2 separate regions of the Homo sapiens genome follow, and region 2 is linked to region 1. The links are contacts of gene promoters, found by promoter capture Hi-C in blood cells and fetal thymus (Javierre and others, 2016). All regions are on one chromosome and are shown on one strand. The core of a region is centred on a gene start or on the middle of the fragment in contact, and the rest is flanking DNA. Distances in the headings are between cores, read along the strand shown. Region 1 holds the start of ABHD14B (abhydrolase domain containing 14B). Region 2 overlaps CISH (cytokine inducible SH2 containing protein).

Region 1 (3,089 bases), core at 226-2,725:
CAGAAATACACTCGGAAGACATAACGCTGACACAAGCAGGCAGACATCAACGAACACACCCCCCCCCCAAAAATATAAGCGCGCAGAAACCCACTGACGGACACCATGCAGACACACAAGCGTACACATACACCCAGACCCCCAAGAACATATGCAGACCCTGCGCGCGCACACACATTACACGCGCGCACATGCACATTCGCGGCCCCAGCGTCTGCTTCTTCCGCGGGACTCTGCCCCGGGGCGCCGGGGCAAGGGGCGGGGTAAAGACGGCCCTCCCCTGGGCCACCGGCCGGCCTCCCTCCCCCGGGAGACTCACCGGGCCCAACGGGATGAGCGGGCGGGCCCCGCCCAGGCGGAACCAGCAGCCGCACAGCGCCCCGACCATGGCTGCCTCCGCAGCTCCGCGGGCCGCTCCGGCTCTAGGCGGCCAGGAGCGCGGCCATCTCGGCGCGCCTGCGCACTCCGCAGCCGCGGGCCTGCAACCCAGTTACCGAGTCGTCTGCGTGGAGGGGGTGCTGGGGGCAGAGCCCCAGCGCTCTCTGGCCCGCTCCCCGCCCAGATTTTCGGAACTGTTTTTGGCTTGAGAGCCGGCGGAGAGCCATGTGGCTTCTTCTCAGTGGAACATCTCCACCCTGGCTCAGTTCTCTGGCCTGTATAATGGAGTTAAGGATAAAACCCACCGCACAGGGTTGTCCTAGGTTCTTAAGGACGGGTCAAGCCTCAGAACAGTGTCCGGAGCAGAGGCCTCGTTGTGTAAATGCCAGATATTGTTATGCAGCAGCTCCAGGTCTTGGCCGACCCACTTTCCTGACTCCTACCCACTCCTCCCCACCCCCTCCCCGACGCACACCCACGGTCAGAGCCTGGGCTGGCCCTGGGCTCGTTCACGTCTACTCATGGCGCCTGCCCTGGTTGGCGATGTGTTACCAACGTCTGGCCTGTCCCAGCCCAAGGCTCCGCGTGGCGACCAGGCCCAGCACTGGGAGGCTGTGCAGAGCGTGGCGTTTACTGCTTATTGCTACTCTGCAGAGGTTGGCAACATCTGACCCGCTCTACTGGCAGGAAACAGGCTCGGGGGCATTGGGAAAACGATCAAGGCCACTTGGCTGGACACTGGCGGAGCCTCGCACTCAAACCTGTCGGGCCTCAACTCCGTGCCAGGCCAACAAGTTGCCCTGGGCAGTTCAAGCTGGGGATAAGGGGGATGGGGAGCAGGAAGACAGCAGCAAGGATGCGATCCCGAAGGAACTTTCCTCCTCAGACTGCTCCATGTCCATGTGGGGCAGGTCGCTGAAGAGTTCGAAACCGTGCTCAGCACCGCGTTTGGGGCATGTGAGACCGAGAGGCTTTGGGAAACTGACGCCGCTGTGAGAACGAGTTTAGCGGAGTCTATGGACGCTGCGAGCTTGTGGCCACAAGAGGGCGCCCCGGAGCACGGCCCAGTCCCCGCCCCCGCTGGATGGGGCCCGGCCTCTTCCCAGCGTTCCTCCTCCGGCCCCAGGTCACCGCCAGCACGCGCCTGCTTCCCGTCTGCGCGAGTCCACGCAGCTCCCCAGGTACCCGCCCTGCACTCCTGACCCTTTCTTCTCTCCAGTCAAAATCCAACCCCACCTACCCCAAGTCTTCCTTTCTCGGATCCCTGGGTCCCCTCCTTGGGAGTTGCCACCATTCCCTCCCGGTGCTCCCTTCCAGAGCTAGCGAGCCAGAACCGTAGTCCGCGGAAGCAACCTGACCGCGAGGTCAACGCGTTGGGCCCCAGGTGGCAGCGCGTTGAGCACCCCGCATCCCCGGCGGGTCGCCTTTCCCACTGGGCGCTTCGGTTTCCGCCTCTAGAAAATGGGCTTTCCGGTGTGGAAGCGCGCCTGTGGTTCCAGCTACTGGGGGTGAGCCGGGAGGATCACTTGAGCCCAGGAAGGTCAAGGCTGCAGTGATCCATGATTGCGCCACTGCACTCCAGCCTGGACGACAGAGCGAGACATCTTCTCTTAAAAAAAAAAAAAAGAAAAAAAAAAAAACCGAAGAAAATGGGCTTTTAGTTCCGGCGCGGTGGCTCACGCCTGTAATCCCAGCACTTTGGGAGGCCAAGGTGGGTGGATCACTTGAGGTCAGGAGTTCCGGACCAGCTCGGCCAACATGATGAAACCCCGTTTCTACTAAAAATATAAAAATTAGGCCGTGCACGGTGGCTCACGCCTGTAATCCCAGCACTTTGGGAGGCTGAGGCGGGCGGATCACGAGGTCAGGAGATCGAGACCACCCTGGCTAACACGGCGAAACCCCGTCTGTACTAAAAAAAAAAAAACAAAAAATTAGCCGGGCGTGGTGGCGCGTGCCTGTAGTCCCAGCTACCCGGGAGGCTGAGGCAGGAGAATGGCGTGAACCCGGGAGGCGGAGCTTGCAGTGAGCGGAGATGTGCCATTGCACTCCAGCCTGGGCGACAGAGCGAGACTCCGTCTCAAAAAAAAAAAAAAAAAAATTAGCCAGGCATGGTGACGCACGCCTGTAAACCCAGCTACTCGGGAGGCTGAGGCAGGAGAATCGCTTGAACCCAGGAGGTGGAGGTTGCAGTGAGCCGAGATCATGCCACTGCACTCCATTCTGGGCAACAAGAGTGAAACTCTGTCCCAAAATAAATAAATAGAATAAAATAAAATAAAATGGGCTTTTTACCCCAATTTGGGCTCCCTCTGGCCTGCATTGACAACTCATGACCTGTAACTTACCGTTGATTGAGCACTGAGCCCTTACTACGTGCTAGGCATGGTACATGCATGGCCTTATTTAATCCTATCAACCACCTATGAGCTAGTACTATTGAATTATCCCCATTTATAGAAAAGGATAATAACGATGAGAATAAGAACAGTAATTGTAATGGAGCCCCACCACATATTGAGGTTTTACAGCAGGCACCCCCACTGATAATTTTTCTGTTTTTTGTTTTTTTGAGATGGAGTTTTTCTCTTGTTGCCCAGTCTGGAGTGCAATGGCGCGTTCTCGGCTCACTGCAACCTCTGCCTCCTGGGTGCAAGCAATTCTACTGCCTTAGCTTCCCAAGTAGTTGGGATTACAGGCGTGTGCCACCA
Region 2 (3,089 bases), core at 590-3,089, 1.4 Mb after region 1:
ACATGGAGGTGCTGGGAAGACTACTTCTCCCTTGCTGTCTCCAGCAAGTTCCTTCCTCCTGTCTGCATTCTGGGACTCCTGAATACCTGCCCCACCACTGCCTTCCACCCCAGGAGCCTCCCCCTGCATTCCGGGGTCCCATAGCCTCTTTCACTTTTTACCCTAGGTGAGCACCCCCTTGTAAGCTCAGGGCTACTGTTGGGTGTCAGGGAACAAAGTTTTAGACTGCTGCGCTCCAAAGCGGGCACACACATGTACCTAGAACACACCAGCCACTGTCCCCACCATGATGATGACACAGCCATGGACACACCCCTGCCCAGGTACACACTCACCAGGAGCTTGTGGTGATCAACACAGCTATTCATACACCCAGCTACCACATCAGCCCCAAAGGTGCCCACACCTACATGTGGGATCTGAGGACCGGCTAAGCTATCTGGACGTGGCCACCCACAGAGGTTCCAGCCTGACTGGCTAGCCACCAACCATGCTCCTGGGAAGGTAGCTCTGGGCCCCAGCAAGCAGGTCATCTCAAAATTTGGCCTCCAGCTCTCCAAGAGGGATTTCCAAGATCCCACAGTACAGCCAGGGTAGGTGTGGAAAAGTTTTTGTCAGGCTGTGGTGTGCCAGAGTTGTGTGGCCCTTTCTCACTGTGAGTGGTCATAGGGCCATGATTTGTTAGAACCTAGAGGGTCACCTATAACCTACACAGGAGTCAGGTCTGGCTCCTGCCACCAGCTCCTGCCTGCGCCTTCCTGCCTCACAAGCAATACTGGCGCTGTTTGCCCATGCTGTCCTCTCTACCTGGGGTCCCTTCCCCCAGCTCCTTCCTTTGGCCTGGAAGACACAGCTCAGGAGCAAGCAGACCCTGACTCCCCCGTGACACCTGCAGTTTTATGACTTTGCATTATAATTACTCTTAGTGTCATCTTCCCCAGCCAGTCTGGTTCTCCTTGAGGGCAAGGCCATGGTTTCATTATGGCGGTGTCCTGAGGCCCAGCCAGGGACTAGACCCAGAACTAAGGCTTGGAGATGTATTTTGCAAGGAGTGAGGGAGGAGCAGCTGTCTTCCTGGGGAAGTAGAGCCAGTCCCTGCTGCCCTCCCAAGGAGGAAGCCCTAGTATCACCCTGCTGGGTGGGCTTCCCCTAGGAGAAAGCTGCTACTCAGATTTTGGTCGGCTCAGTTCCCCCAACCCCAGCCATCCAAGAATATGGTGTTACTGAACCTCTCAGTGCATGGGTTGGTGGGACCCTTTATTGCGGAAAAGGGAAACTGAAGCCCAGTGAAGAGCAAGCTTTGTACAAGATCGTAGAGCCTGGTAGGGCTGGCTTGCCAGGGTGGGAACTGGAGTGTGGATTAGGTCCCTGCCCTTGGTGGGAGCTCATACTGACAGGAGGTGAGACTTGCCAGTGCCTTTAGAGGCCACTGTCCACCCCAGACCCTCCACTGGGAGAAGCAGAGGCCAGGATAGGCTGACTTGTATGGGTAGGGGATTATTTCAGTCTCTAAGTCCTGGCCAGTGTGGACCTAGGTCCCTCTGAGAGACACTCCTATCCATGGGGAGGTAGCGTGTGACCTCAGGCAGCCTACCATAATCCTGGGGCTTCTCTGGAGGACCCCACACAGATCTATCATAGGATAAATCTACTTGTCTGTCGTAGATCTATCTCAACTAGGACCATTCATCAGTGGGCCATTTAATCAGCCCACTTCAGCCAGGAGGGCACAAACATGAAGCTACTTTGCACTGAATCCTATCAGTGTGGTGAGAACATTAGACATGCCTATAGGGAATGATCTGTGTTTTTGGTTGATATAAAATAGAGAGCAATTAATTACTGTTTAGTAAATGCAGGGCAGTGGAAAAGAATCTTTCAAAAGAGGATCCCCACATGGAAACAATCAAGGTGGCTTTTGTGATGACAAGTGGGGAACGAGATACTGGACTAACTGAGCCCATGGCTGGGTAGAGGGGAAGCTGAGGCTCATAGTGAGATGGGCCAGCCAGAGGTCATGAAACTAGTCTGGGGCATAGGGGGGTCTCTGGAGATGGGGGAAGCATGGGTCCTCCACTCACTGCTCATCCACTGCCTTCTAGACCTCGTCCTTTGCTGGCTGTGGAGCGGACTGGGCAGCGGCCCCTGTGGGCCCCGTCCCTGGAACTGCCCAAGCCAGTCATGCAGCCCTTGCCTGCTGGGGCCTTCCTCGAGGAGGTGGCAGAGGGTACCCCAGCCCAGACAGAGAGTGAGCCAAAGGTGCTGGACCCAGAGGAGGATCTGCTGTGCATAGCCAAGACCTTCTCCTACCTTCGGGAATCTGGTGAGTCTGAGGGGGGAGGCAGGCCTTTTCCTGAGTAGTCTGGTGGGAGAAGCTTAGTTCTGCCTTTGAGTCTGATTTGGGAGGCATAGCCCGGCCCAGGAGAGTCTGATGGGAGAGGCACAGCCCTCTCTAGGGAAGCGTGAAGCTGGAGGCACTGCCTTGACTTGCACTGGATTGGTTACCCCAGCTAATTTCCACTATGTCCCTTGGCCCCCTCTGCACTTGCCTAGGCTGGTATTGGGGTTCCATTACGGCCAGCGAGGCCCGACAACACCTGCAGAAGATGCCAGAAGGCACGTTCTTAGTACGTGACAGCACGCACCCCAGCTACCTGTTCACGCTGTCAGTGAAAACCACTCGTGGCCCCACCAATGTACGCATTGAGTATGCCGACTCCAGCTTCCGTCTGGACTCCAACTGCTTGTCCAGGCCACGCATCCTGGCCTTTCCGGATGTGGTCAGCCTTGTGCAGCACTATGTGGCCTCCTGCACTGCTGATACCCGAAGCGACAGCCCCGATCCTGCTCCCACCCCGGCCCTGCCTATGCCTAAGGAGGATGCGCCTAGTGACCCAGCACTGCCTGCTCCTCCACCAGCCACTGCTGTACACCTAAAACTGGTGCAGCCCTTTGTACGCAGAAGCAGTGCCCGCAGCCTGCAACACCTGTGCCGCCTTGTCATCAACCGTCTGGTGGCCGACGTGGACTGCCTGCCACTGCCCCGGCGCATGGCCGACTACCTCCGACAGTACCCCTTCCAGCTCTGA

The links. Contacts are between HindIII fragments. The CHiCAGO score rates a contact against its expected background, and 5 or more counts as called.
Region 2: a fragment that was not itself captured here is called in contact with the fragment with the promoter of ABHD14B in region 1 in 1 of 17 cell types (erythroblasts); the score reaches 6.9 in erythroblasts.

What each region holds. Positions count from the first base shown.
Region 1 is chr3:51,972,435-51,975,523 of GRCh38, reverse strand. ABHD14B (abhydrolase domain containing 14B) reads left to right here and starts at 1,475. Exons shown (of 4, transcript NM_001146314.2): 1 at 1,475-1,559. It overlaps ABHD14A-ACY1 (ABHD14A-ACY1 readthrough), which reads right to left and starts at 460. Exons shown (of 17, transcript NM_001316331.2): 1 at 320-460. ABHD14A (abhydrolase domain containing 14A) reads right to left here and starts at 460. Exons shown (of 5, transcript NM_015407.5): 1 at 320-460. The coding sequence starts at 388. RefSeq lists silencers at 157-536, 1,367-1,536, 1,757-1,906 and enhancers at 1,137-1,316, 1,350-2,286. The HindIII fragment of the contact is 8,219 bases long and covers 1-3,089 here.
Region 2 is chr3:50,607,607-50,610,695 of GRCh38, reverse strand. CISH (cytokine inducible SH2 containing protein) reads left to right here. Exons shown (of 3, transcript NM_145071.4): 2 at 2,103-2,323; 3 at 2,554-3,089. The coding sequence ends at 3,089. Among named protein-coding and RNA genes, the nearest start is that of CISH, 2.6 kb to the left of the region's middle. The HindIII fragment of the contact is 1,077 bases long and covers 1,301-2,377 here.